Regions from separate parts of the Homo sapiens genome. Here region 1 is linked to region 2. Evidence: promoter capture Hi-C in 16 types of primary human blood cells and fetal thymus (Javierre and others, 2016). All regions are on one chromosome and are shown on one strand. Each heading gives the region's core, a stretch centred on a gene start or on the middle of the fragment in contact. The rest is flanking DNA. Distances are from core to core; before and after follow the strand shown. Region 1 holds the start of ALCAM (activated leukocyte cell adhesion molecule). Region 2 holds the start of SENP7 (SUMO specific peptidase 7).

Region 1 (5,929 bases), core at 1,767-4,266, 3.9 Mb after region 2:
TGACGAAGTACGGTTTAGAAATTCCGGATTTAATTTCCCCCGGGAAAAGCAAATATCTTCTGTTGGTACCGGGCAGTCGACTCACGTAGTCTTCCTTTAAAACCAAGTCTATGCCAGCCGGGTGTGAGGGGAGTGGTGGGGGTGAGCAGGGGGAGGAGAGAGATTCGAAAAGTACAGGAGGAATCAGTCCAGTACAGGGGTTGCCCCTGCCAACAAGTAGCTATTCCTGTTAACTCCCAAGAAGCAAGTTTCCACCTTTGCCACTTCCTCCTGCCCTTTCCTTTCCTTTTCCCTTCACTCCCGCTCTTGGACCCAAGGTTCGCTCCCCACCGCCACCGCCCTGCCCCACTATTCTCTTTACAGGACAGAAGGCTGCAGCAGCACGGCGGAGAAAAATCTCTGAGGAATGAGTCAGTGGGATGGGCGTATGGGTGGAGGGAGAGGGCAGTCGATTTTTAAACCTCAGCGAGGGTGGGTGGGCAGTTGGAAGCCAGAGGCCTTATCACTGGGGCGCTGCAACATCACAGAAAGTGTTAGTCCCAGGGCTCTCCCTGGCGCGCGCGGCTCCTGTGCTTGCTTCTTATTGGCGGACCTGGCCCTGGGGGCGGAGCCGCGGTGAAGCACCGCTCATCCGGGCTCCAGGACCGGGGCACGCGGTTCTCCCTGATCCCGGAGCTGGGCTCAGGGCTCGGACTCAGTCCTGCAGCGCCTCTAGGCTGCGGATCCGCGCTTCAACCACCTGCTTTGCGCTGCGTCCGGGGAAGTGGGGAGGAGACGGGAGGGAGGGAGGAGGCGGGGAGAGGAGGAAAGAGGCAGCTTACACACGCCTTCCAGTCCCTCTACTCAGAGCAGCCCGGAGACCGCTGCCGCCGCTGCCGCTGCTACCACCGCTGCCACCTGAGGAGACCCGCCGCCCCCCCGTCGCCGCCTCCTGCGAGTCCTTCTTAGCACCTGGCGTTTCATGCACATTGCCACTGCCATTATTATTATCATTCCAATACAAGGAAAATAAAAGAAGATACCAGCGAAAAGAACCGCTTACACCTTTCCGAATTACTCAAGTGTCTCCTGGAAACAGAGGGTCGTTGTCCCCGGAGGAGCAGCCGAAGGGCCCGTGGGCTGGTGTTGACCGGGAGGGAGGAGGAGTTGGGGGCATTGCGTGGTGGAAAGTTGCGTGCGGCAGAGAACCGAAGGTGCAGCGCCACAGCCCAGGGGACGGTGTGTCTGGGAGAAGACGCTGCCCCTGCGTCGGGACCCGCCAGCGCGCGGGCACCGCGGGGCCCGGGACGACGCCCCCTCCTGCGGCGTGGACTCCGTCAGTGGCCCACCAAGAAGGAGGAGGAATATGGAATCCAAGGGGGCCAGTTCCTGCCGTCTGCTCTTCTGCCTCTTGATCTCCGCCACCGTCTTCAGGCCAGGTGAGCAAGGGCCTGGGAGCAGCCCCAGACAGACGTGGGCCTGGAGCAGTTTCCTAGGTCCCCGTCCCAGCCTCGCACCCCCGAGGCAGTGCGCCCAGGCGCGTGGTGGAGGTAAGGGGACCGCTGTCCTGGCACAGAGCTGTCCCCGGGCTCGGTCACCTGTGCCGCACGTTTGGGCTTGGCTGGTTAGCTCAAGTTTGGGCATCAAGCTGGGGAAACTGGGTGAATCTCCAGGAACTTGGTGCTCCGGGGTGGGCAGGATTCGCCTGACGCTCTCCCCTTGTCCCTGCGGCTCCCAGCTAGGCGGCGGACTCTTGCCCTCTGACAGTTCCTCCTGTCTCTGGGTATCCAAGTCCACGTCACTGCGCCCCGAGCAGTTTTTCTTTCGCTTAGTTCTCGGATGAAATAACTGCCGGCACTTTTTCGTGATAAATCCCCTAGTAACTTCCCCTTGGTGAGCCGAGGAAGGGATGGGAGGGGTAGAGAAGGAGAGGACTTTAATCACCTCCCCCCGCCCCCCTTGCGAAACCTGCTAAAGCTTAAAATCGTGGTTTCAACGTTACCCCCTGCGGTCCCCGTCCATTGTCTGGGCGGGTGGTGAGTGAAAGGGTGACCGCAGGCAGATAACACAGCCAGAACAGGAATTAGTAGGTAGGCCTGGGAGACACCTCAGTGAGAGGTTTGTGAATTTCCAGGACCTGCTCATAGAGCCTCAGTTCTCAGTTCTGTACTGAGTCTTGGAAGAGAGAGAGAGAGAGAGAGAGAGAGAGAGAGAGAGAGAGAAAAGGCAAAATTCCCAACAACTAAAATATCTCTCGGGAAATCCCTTTCCACACCCTCGGGGACGTCCCCTGGCCCTGGTATCCTCAGGCCCGCCTGGCGGCTGACACAAGTTGTTCTAACAGGGTATTCCGTGCGCTCACAGTTGCCTGACAGAGCAGCAGGTTCCTTTGCTCCCCTAAACTGAAAATTTAGGGGATTTTTTTTTCTTTGAAGTTTTTTTTTTCTATCCCTGCGTAGACAGTTGCCAGTTAAACTCCTACTTCCTGGTATTTTGGCCTGTTTGTTCTTAGCTTTTTCTTTAGCTTTTATCAAAGAAAAATCTCACTTCCTTTTATCCGTGCACATCCCTTCAGCTGTCGGCAAGCTCAGGTCACAGAAGAGGTTTGAAAGCCTCTGAATCTCTCCCAGGAACTGGCGGGGAGAGGGGTTTGGGGGCCAGAGCCTGAGGAAGAGATTACAAGTGTTTGCGAGCTGCTGCTGCTGCTGCCGTTGCTGTGTGTGTGGGCGGGAGGAGTGCCCTCTCCAGATCTCTTTATTAAAGTTACATTTCTGGGTGAGGTAATGAGCTCACCTGATGTTTCTGAGGCTGAGGGAAAAAAAAGGCGTCTGCGTTCTCTGACAAATCTCGGGCTCTGGGGCGGGGACTGTGAAACCATAGTTCAACCGGATTTAAAGCAGGTGTCCTAGTGTAACAACGCTGGGGAGGTAGGTGGAAAGGCGAGACCCCCTTGGGCCTGGCACAGTGTGGATTTCACTTTTTCGAGATTCCACTGTCCGATGGAGGAAAGGACACTTTGGAGCCAGGGAATGAGCCAAGAAGGGAGGACAAGGGTGATGTCGGTTTGTAACATGCAAACGTCCACACGCCCACAGTTGGTTTTCCGATTAACCCCCTCGAGACTTGGAGAATGTAATCTCACCCTCGTCCACACCCCTGACACAGGCACATAACCAGTTTCCTTTTCGGTGCCGTCACAGGCGGGCCACGTCGCAGGATAGGTTTTTCTACACATTTAACTGCTAAAAGGGGGAAAGTTCCGCTTTCAGACCTCCTTCACGGTGGTTCTTTTGGCGCCACAGGCTCGTGTGTCCAGGGGGCACCGAGCTGCGCGCTTTCGGCGAGCGGCTAGCCCCGGCTCACCGCAACCAGCCACCGTGAATCTGAGGATCCGATATCGGCCCTGGACCCTCAGATCCGTGGTTTCGGTGAATTACCGAGCTGGCATTGCCGAAATTCTCATTGCAGTATCAGTGTGTTTTGAAAGGAAAGGTTACAGCACTAAAGGCGCCGTGTCTACACTGAGGAAGCAAGTCTTGGACAGTAAGTGCGCCTTCTTCGGAGCCCTCTGCATAGCAGAGCCCGGTGGGGGCGCGGTGCCAAAGGCCGGCTTCATTTGAGCGGGGTAACTGCCTTCCCTGCCGGCCACTCTTCATTTCCGGAGCAGTTTTAATAGTGTATGTCCAGTTGTAGAGGTCAAAAACTCGAGTTTGTGAAACTGCTTCCCCGGGTCTTTCGGCTTGTAGTCGCTACAAAGTCATTGATATATTTTAGGCGTGCCACGTTACCTGTTTTGAAAGGAGGAGAAAAATATATGAACCACGAAAACTGAATTCAGAGATGAAGGCAATGAAGTGTGTGTTCAACATCCGAGATAGCAATATTCTCGTTATTCTTGTAGAAAGAGCGTCAGCCTGTGGTGACATTTTGTATTGCTTAAAAAAAGAATGCTTTTCTGGATTATTTACAAGGAGATGGGGCGCTGCAGTTAACTCTTTCTTCACTTGGGTCATCTGTATGAACCCCTCTATGGGATTTTTCATAACTACTCACTGATCTCACTGATATAAGATTCATTCTAAGACATAAGCACACATAAAGCTTTCTTCAGTGGGATATTATGTTTGAAACATATCAATTGATCTCAACAGGACTTGGGAAAGCATCAACTCAAATAATGTCCTTTCAAAGACTATTGATGTAGGACTATTGAAATTGATTAATTTAAAAACTAAAAACTGTTTAACAGCCAATATATATATATTTTTTCCTTAAGGATTTATTTAATCCAATAGCAATTTACAATTTAATGGAGCATTATTTGCAGTAAATTGCTTTTCTAGGCTTTCTTCAGGACATCTACCTTCAGGCACTTGAGCAAGTCATTTAACCTTTTTGAGCTTCAGTTTTCTCATACAAAATAAAAAGACAGACTAGAGGCCTACTCTCTGAAATGTCTCCCAGCTCAAAAACTCTTTGTTTCTGAAGTCTTAAGGTAAAAAACCAATTTAGGCAGGCAGAGTCATTTTTCAACACTATTTTTCTAAGGATCTCAGTCTAGACAAAATTCATATAAATTGTATTATTAGAAAAGTATCAGTAGACCCCAATTTCTAATTTCCTTTTTTTTTCTACCTTTAAAAATTCATGATAACATCTATGCTTACTCTTTCCAGCCTTAGTAGGGAAAAAAAAAAGCGTGAAGGAGAGAAATTAGCCTTCCACTCTCCTGGGAAAAGAGGACCCAAAAGTAAGAAAGGATAGTAGGCCTCAGAAAGCCCTGCTAGTGTAACTCATCTCTCCTGCAAACCTGTTCCTATATAAACTGCATACATAGTACCTAGAATGAGATGTAAATTATGGTTTATGCTTAAATATTCATATGACAAAGCCTCATATTGTACATCCTAAAGTTGCTCAAAAAGTTGATTTGCAACATGGTTGTAAATGCAAGACAGAAGGAAATAGAAAATACTAATATTTTTCTATTGTTTTAAAACTTGTAGAAATCCAAAATATCTTGTCTTACCAGATTCCAAACCTTTTCTGACTTTGTAAAAAATTCAAACTAGCTTATCTTTTTTAATAGACATTCAGATGAAAATGCATGTCTACCATTGACTTATCAAAAAGAAGAAAATTAATTAAATAGTCTTGTGTTATTAGAAAAATTGTATATTGTAGTCAGTATTCATGTGTTCAGTTTCTAACTATGTCATGTAAGAATGTTGTGACCTTGGGAAAATTATTTTTCTGCTCTTTTTTATTTCCCATCTGTGAATTTCTTTCTGTGCAATGTGTGGTTCTGATTGTGTTGAGATTAGTAATTCCCTTGCTCAGCATTTCAAATTTTTTAAGTAAAACGTGCTATATTAATTAAGGCTTTTATTATATTGTTAATAGAATAACATTCTTTAATTTATTCCACTTAATTATCACTTTTATCATTTTATTAAAATAATGGAAAGATGTTTCTTTTTTTTTTTCTCTTTTTTCTTTTTCTCCGTCAAATTTTCATGCCACTAACCGTGGGCCTTTGTAAAACTTAGTACCACCTAAGTTGTCAATATTACTTGGTGTAAGATGGCAGCAGTTTGTCAGATAGTATTTTAAATGCTTTATAATCACCATGTTTTACAATTCCAAACACACTTCTTTCTGTTCTGGCCATTTATTTAGCATAAAACACCATCAAAGAGTTCTAGCTCCCTGAAGGTATTCACTCAAGTAGACACATGCAATTTATAGCCCAGATATGCAGAAGATCCACTTAGGTATAGCTATGATAGAAGAATATGTCTCTGTCTCAATGTATACATAGAAACTTAAATGCAATTTCTCACAATGTGTTAATTTTATTCTTCATTGTTAAGTATTCACAGAGGCTAATCTCATTTCTTACACATTATGTGTGTGACACATGTATGTGACATATGAAGAATGAACTAAC
Region 2 (6,488 bases), core at 1,969-4,468:
AATGAGAGTGACACAGGCCTCCAAGAATGTTGCCTGAAGCAATCAGTTGAAAACTGGTTCAAATTTACTTGACGTTTCCTATTTTGATTCAAAAATTCACTTGAAAATTGCAGTCTATGATTCTAATTTATCTGTGCTGTATTTTTGTTGTTTAACACTTTTAATGGTCATTCTCCCTTGCTCCCAGACACTTTATCATTCAACTTCAGTGAACCTGTCTCTGATGCCAGCCGTTTTTTAATGTGTATCACCATCTAATATACTGCTTTAAATGGTATAGTTATCAGTTACATGAGTTACAAATACATGTGTTTAGCTTAAACCATCTGGAATTGGGTTTCTGCTACTTGCAACTGAAAAAGTTTTGAGCGGTACACTGTGAACATTTTACAGTTCTTCCTTGTTTAGCAGAAAGTTTAGGGCAGCCTAATGTAGTCTCACAGATAAAACTTCAAATTTTGTGTTTTATTTTATCTTTCTACTGCTACCCACCTTCCTTCTACCTCTTCTTCCTGTTTTATTAATCAAACTCTTCTGCATACTTAGGAAACTTTGATGACTATAAATGTCACTTCATGGCCGGGCACGGTGGCTCACGCCTGTAATTCCAGCACTTTGGGAGGCCGAGGCAAGTGGATCACCTGAGCTCAGGAGTTTGAGACCAGCCTGGCCAACATTGTGAAACCCCATCTTTACTAAAAGTACAAAAATTAACCGGGCATGGTGACAGGCACCTGTAATCTCAGCTGCTAGGGAGGCTGAGGCAGAAGAATCGCTTGAACCTGGGAGGCAGGGGTGGTAGATTGTGCCACTGCGCTCCAGCCTGGGCAACAGAGCGAGACTCCATCTCAAAAAAAAAAAAAAAAAAAAGTCACTTCATTTGGGTTCCAGTTAGCAACAACTTACAATGAAATGGCAACTGCATGCCTACAACCACTACACGGAATCTTTCAACCAGCCAATGTTTTATTTCTGAGAATTTATTCAGGAAATTAAATATACGCTATTAAGAAAAGCAGAAGCATACTTAAAAATTAATTAGTGCACATCTTAAAACTAGAGGCATACTGGAGAACAGCTAGGTAACATTAGATTTGGGTATGGATTTTATTATACCTTACTTTTCAGAAAGGACAGCTCCAAAAGAGAGATCACGAGAAAAAGAAAACGCTCTCTAGAGATATAACTAACGTAAATATCAATGTCTTTTAAGGATTAACAGCTTTATTATCAAAATCCACTTCCCACAACTACTTACATCAAGTTACTGTGACAAATAAATAAATCTAAGTGTAATCAGGTAAAAAGGAACGTGACTTGTTGAATTACAAGGCAAATATCTTACCTTCCCTCCTCAAAAATGTATTAAACCTAGATGAAATGCATTTATTTAAAAAAGGTTGTGCATCTCAAAGGAAGATATGATCACACCTAAAGTTCTGTGTTAGGAAGCCCGCAAATGACACCAGCTAAGCATTGTGCGTTTTCCTAATGTGTCCATTTTACTTAGAGGTTTGGTGGGGGGTGGAGACTATTAAAACACTCATCAGTTGGAGGCATATACCTACATGTATGTATAAATATACATATATATCATTTATACATGTGCTTTCAAAGGAAAAAACTATTATCTCCAGAATATACACCAAGAACATCGATAACATTGGTTGCATATGAAAAGGGATTTCAGGTTTTCAACTGCTTCAAGCAGTGTCCCCAGAGATCCATAATCACTCTCCTTTGCAATTAAGGCTGAAAGCAGTTTGAGATGCACTGCCACAGGGCACTCCTAAATAAATTTGGAATTGGTTTTTTTTGTTTTTTTTTTGTTGTTGTTGTTGTTTGATACAGAGTCTCGCTCTGTTGCCCAGGCTGGAGTGCAGTGGTGCGATCTCGGCTCACTGCAAGCTCCGCCTCCCGGGTTCACGCCATTCTCCTGCCTCAGCCTCCTGAGTAGCTGGGACTACAGGCGCCCGCCACCACGCCCGGCTAATTTTTTGCATTTTTTAGTAGAGACGGGGTTTCACAATGTTAGCCAGGATGGTCTCGATCTCCTGACTTTGTGATCCGACCGCCTCGGCCTCCCAAGGTGTTGGCATTACAGGCGTGAGCCACCGCGCCCGGCCAATAAATCTGTAATTGTTAACTGTCTCTGCAGAAACCAACGGTACCATCAGAAACAGAAAAATGAAATGAAATAATTGATTCATTGGGCGTTCGTTTGTGTACTGGACTGTAAGCATATGAGTCCTCGTCCTCTCCTCCTACCATCCATAGGACTTAACACAAGGACTTGAGGACCCCCTAATGGATGAAATGTTTGATAAAAACTTCTCAACTGGGAGGAGCTCTACCTCACGTTTTTATAACTCCACTTTCTTGTTTCCAAGACGTTGTACACAAAACTGAAGATAGTCATTTAAAACAAAGTAACGTCCAAAACAAAAAATATGCTGAAAATAAAAACACAACGAAAGCACGGCTTCAAATCCTTTGTTTGACTTTCCAATCACTTTTGGAAGACGCAGGGTAGGCTGGAAAAGAAAAAGGCTATTAGGCGGGCCTGTTCAGCAGAACGAGACCCGGAGAGGCATTGTATCAAAGAAAAGGAGTCTCCGGTCGCAAGCCCCACCTTTCCTCCCCAGCAGCAGCTACCTGCTGAGGGAAAGAGGAGGGAGAGGGGAAGGGACGCAAAGTCGAGAATCAAAGGAAGAGAGGAAAGTGGGGTCAGGCGCTGAGAAGCCGAAATGAAATTGGAACATTGGTGGAATTACGAGGAAGGCGTGGCAGAGAGTGACAAGCCAACCGGGAAGATCCATGGGCCGATGAGACGCAAGGAGGGTGTTCGCGGGAGGAGGGAAAAAATAAAAGGGGTTTTGAGGTGAAGAGCGCCCGAGGCTTCGATGACAGCTCGGACCGGGTCTTCGACTCCAGGGGCGGGGGCGACCCGGGAGCCTTCCATTGTGCGCGCCCCTTCCTCTCCCCGCCCCCGCCCTCGCCCCCGCGGCTTCGGGCCGCAACCCCAGCTGCCGCCTGCGCCTCCCGTTTCCCCCGGGTAGGAGACAATATGTTCAGCCCTTCTCTGACCCTTTCTCACCGGATGAAGATGGCCGTCGCCCGAGCTTTCTCTTGTCCATCTTCTCCCGCTGCTGAAATTTCAGTTGCAGGCGCTGTCACCTCAGGACCCCTCCGGCTTGGAGAGGGAGGGGGAGGGGAAAGGAAAAAAAAAAAAAAAAAAAAAAAAAAAAAAAAGCCCGCAAAGTGCGAAGCGCGCTTGCGCAAGAGCCGTCGCCTGCCCTTCGACCGGAAATCAGCCGCCCCTCCCACCTTCGACCGGAAATCACTTCCTGGGACTTTTCACTGTGGGCTGCCTCTTCCAGCGTTTTTTTGGTGGCGTTTATTTCATGATCTGAGCCCCTCTGGGGAGGTGAACCACCTGGGTGCTCGATTTTAGCTTTGTTGACTTTGAAGATTAGATTGACAAAAATTAAAAGGGAAAAACAGGAACTCCTCCGGTTCACTGGATCTCGCGAGGTGGCCAAACAACTATGAAAACAAAACGTTAGCGTTTGCAGTATTACATCCCTCACAGCCTCTCTTACATATTTGCCCCCAACGCCTTTCCTCGAACTCAGAAACCAAAAGATTTTAAGATGGCAAAATCACCTAATAATAGCCTAGCTATTAGTTTAGCATTTGCTGTGGAAATATGTCAGCAGACGAGGAAAAATGTCTTAGGATTCCTTTTTAAAATTCGAACTTGTGATTTTTAAAGTTCCTTAAAAGAAAAGCTAGAACTTAATTTTTCAATAACTGAAATGCTGATATGACAGAAAGTGGGTGGCTATAAACTTGGAATTTGTTCAATTAACATTTACCACGATACTTAAGGGACTAATCCAGTCCTCAATGAACTCAAGGTCTGGTACTATTAGCCTGATTATCCCTAATGGTGCATATCTGAATAATTTTTAAATGCACGTGTAAGCTTTCATGACGATTTAATCACAAGTTTAACAAAATTCAGCACAGTGCTCTAAGCAGGGAAAATGTTTCTGGCATGTTCAAAGCCCGAAGGGACTCTGGAAGTAGGGTTTGATTCCCAAGCTGGCCCCTTTATACCCCTAACGCCTATCCCTCCAACCCCCATCTCCCATCCTAACGGAGTCAATAAAGGGATCGGCCCAACTCGTCCACTAGAGCAGTCCCCTTCATCGTGAGTTAAGCCTTCTTAATTATAATGTGGTCAGTCCCCAGGTAGAGGTAAGGCCCCAGGTGTTGTGGGGTGTTGGGCCTGGGGAAGTGTTCTACATGGCAGGAATGACTGCAAAGCAGAAATACTTTAAGTCTTGCTGGGATTGAAGTTTACTGTAAGGATTTCGTTTTATTTGGTTAATTTCTGTTTAACAAAAACATTGCTTTCTGAAAAATAATTGAATTTTCAGTTTCCTCACAAATTAACTTTTTTTTTTTTTTGAGACGGAGTCTCGCTCTGTCGCCCAGGCTGGAGTGCAGTGGCACAATCTCGGCTCGCTGCAAGCTTCACCTCCTGGGTTCACGCCATTCTCCTGCCTCAGCCTCCCGAGTAGCTGAGACTACAGGCGCCCGCCACCACGCCCGGCTAATTTTTTGTATTTTTTAGTAGAGATGGGGTTTCACCATGTTAGCCAGCATGGTCTCGATCTCCTGACCTCGTGATCCGCCCGCCTCAGCCTCCCAGAGTGCTGGGATTACAGGCGTGAGCCACTGCGCCTGGCCCAAATTAACTTTTTTAACTAAAGAACTTAACTGATTCTAAAGTCAAGCTGGGCCGGACACAGTGGCTCGCGTCTGTAATCCCAGCACTTTGGGAGGCCGAGGCAGAATAGATTGAGCCAAGACATTCCAGACCATCCTGGGCAACAAAGCAAGACCCCCCTCTCCACAAAAATATACAGGCCAGATGCTATGACTCACCCTTGAGCCCAGGAGTTTGATACCAGCCTGGGCAATATAGTGAGACCTCCTCTCTACAAAGAAAAAAACTAGCCACACGTGGTGGCGCATGCCTGTAGTCCCAGGTACTCAAGAGGCTAAGGCAGGAAGATCACTTAAGCCCATGGAGTTAAAAGTTGCAGTGAGCCTTGATCAGGCCACTGCATTCCAGCCTGGGCGACAGAGCCAGACTGTCTCGGAAAAAAAAAAAAAAATGACCCGGGCACGGTGGAGCACACCTATAGTCCCCGGCTACTGGGGAAGATGAGATTTAAGGATTACTTGAGTCCAGGACTTTGAGGCTGCAGTGAGCTATGATCGCTACACGGTACTGCGGCCTGGGCGACACACAGATACCCTGTCTCCAAAAAACATAAAAAATAAACTTCCCAGACGATTCTGTTGCATACTCCAATTTGGTAAAACCAACACTTAGTGACATCTGCTTTTTTCTTTTTCCTATCTCTAATATTCTTTTTTCTATGTGTCCTTGCCTCTGGTGGATTAAATACAACTTTTTTGTTCCCTAGGGAGAGGTGAACAGTGAGGAGGGACATTATGTACTTTCATCTTATTTTGAAATTTCTACAGATATAATTTCACAACCACTATTATTTTCTACAATTTACTAAATGGAATTGTAATACAGGCATTATTATTTTTCTAAAAAACTGCATAATTGCTTTCTGTGTTGGGAAAAGAAAAATAGTGCTGCTTTTGTACCAAAACAGTATTCTTTCTTTCAAACATATTTTCTAGAGGTTTTTTGTTTTGTTTTGCTTTCCTAAATATGAAAATAAATGAAAACTTACTCGTTGTAAAAAAAAAAAAGTATCATTAGATATTTTTAAATATTCTGAGTAAAAGTATTCTCCATTCTGTGCTTCTTAATGGCATGGTATATACAAAAGGACCTTGTTCCTAAATATAAAAAAGGATTATAATTACTGTATTAGATTATTACTCTGTAACCAGGGGATTTCCTAACTTCTCAGATTATAAAATTACTTCTTATAAAAGCTTACTAATCACCTGTGAAAAATGTAAATATTGTTAAATGTAACCACTTTTGATCCTAGAAAGGAAAGGGGTTCCTTAAAAATCCAAATACGCTAATTAAAGTTATTTGCATCTATGATTCTGGTGTCCCACCCACCCTCTTCTTTAAAGATAATCACACCTAACCTAGAGAAGTCAAATTCAGAGAGATCGAAAGTAGAATGGTGGTTGCTAGTGCCTAGGATGAGGAGAATGGGGAGTTATTGTTTAATGGGTATAGAGTTACAGTTTTGTAAGATGAAAAGCATTCTGTGGATGGATGTCAGTAATGGTTACACAACAATATGAATGTACGTAATGCCTCTGAACTGCACACTTAAAAATGGTTAGAATGGTAAATTTTGTTATGTATATTTTCACAATTGTTTTTTAAGAAATAACCACACCTAGAACAAGTCATTACAGCTGTGTCACCACCTAATCCAGGATACTGGAAAAGCCTAATTTCAAATTTT

Evidence for each region. Contacts are between HindIII fragments. The CHiCAGO score rates a contact against its expected background, and 5 or more counts as called.
Region 1: a fragment that was not itself captured here is called in contact with the fragment with the promoter of SENP7 in region 2 in 1 of 17 cell types (total B cells); the score reaches 5.3 in total B cells.

Annotation. Positions count from the first base shown.
Region 1 is chr3:105,366,064-105,371,992 of GRCh38, forward strand. It overlaps ALCAM (activated leukocyte cell adhesion molecule), which reads left to right and starts at 846. Exons shown (of 16, transcript NM_001627.4): 1 at 846-1,418. The coding sequence starts at 1,346. RefSeq lists silencers at 791-890, 1,221-1,340 and enhancers at 2,371-2,530, 2,867-3,367, 3,368-3,868. The HindIII fragment of the contact is 2,124 bases long and covers 1,955-4,078 here.
Region 2 is chr3:101,509,994-101,516,481 of GRCh38, forward strand. It overlaps SENP7 (SUMO specific peptidase 7), which reads right to left and starts at 3,219. Exons shown (of 24, transcript NM_020654.5): 1 at 3,098-3,219. The coding sequence starts at 3,137. The HindIII fragment of the contact is 4,750 bases long and covers 1-3,986 here.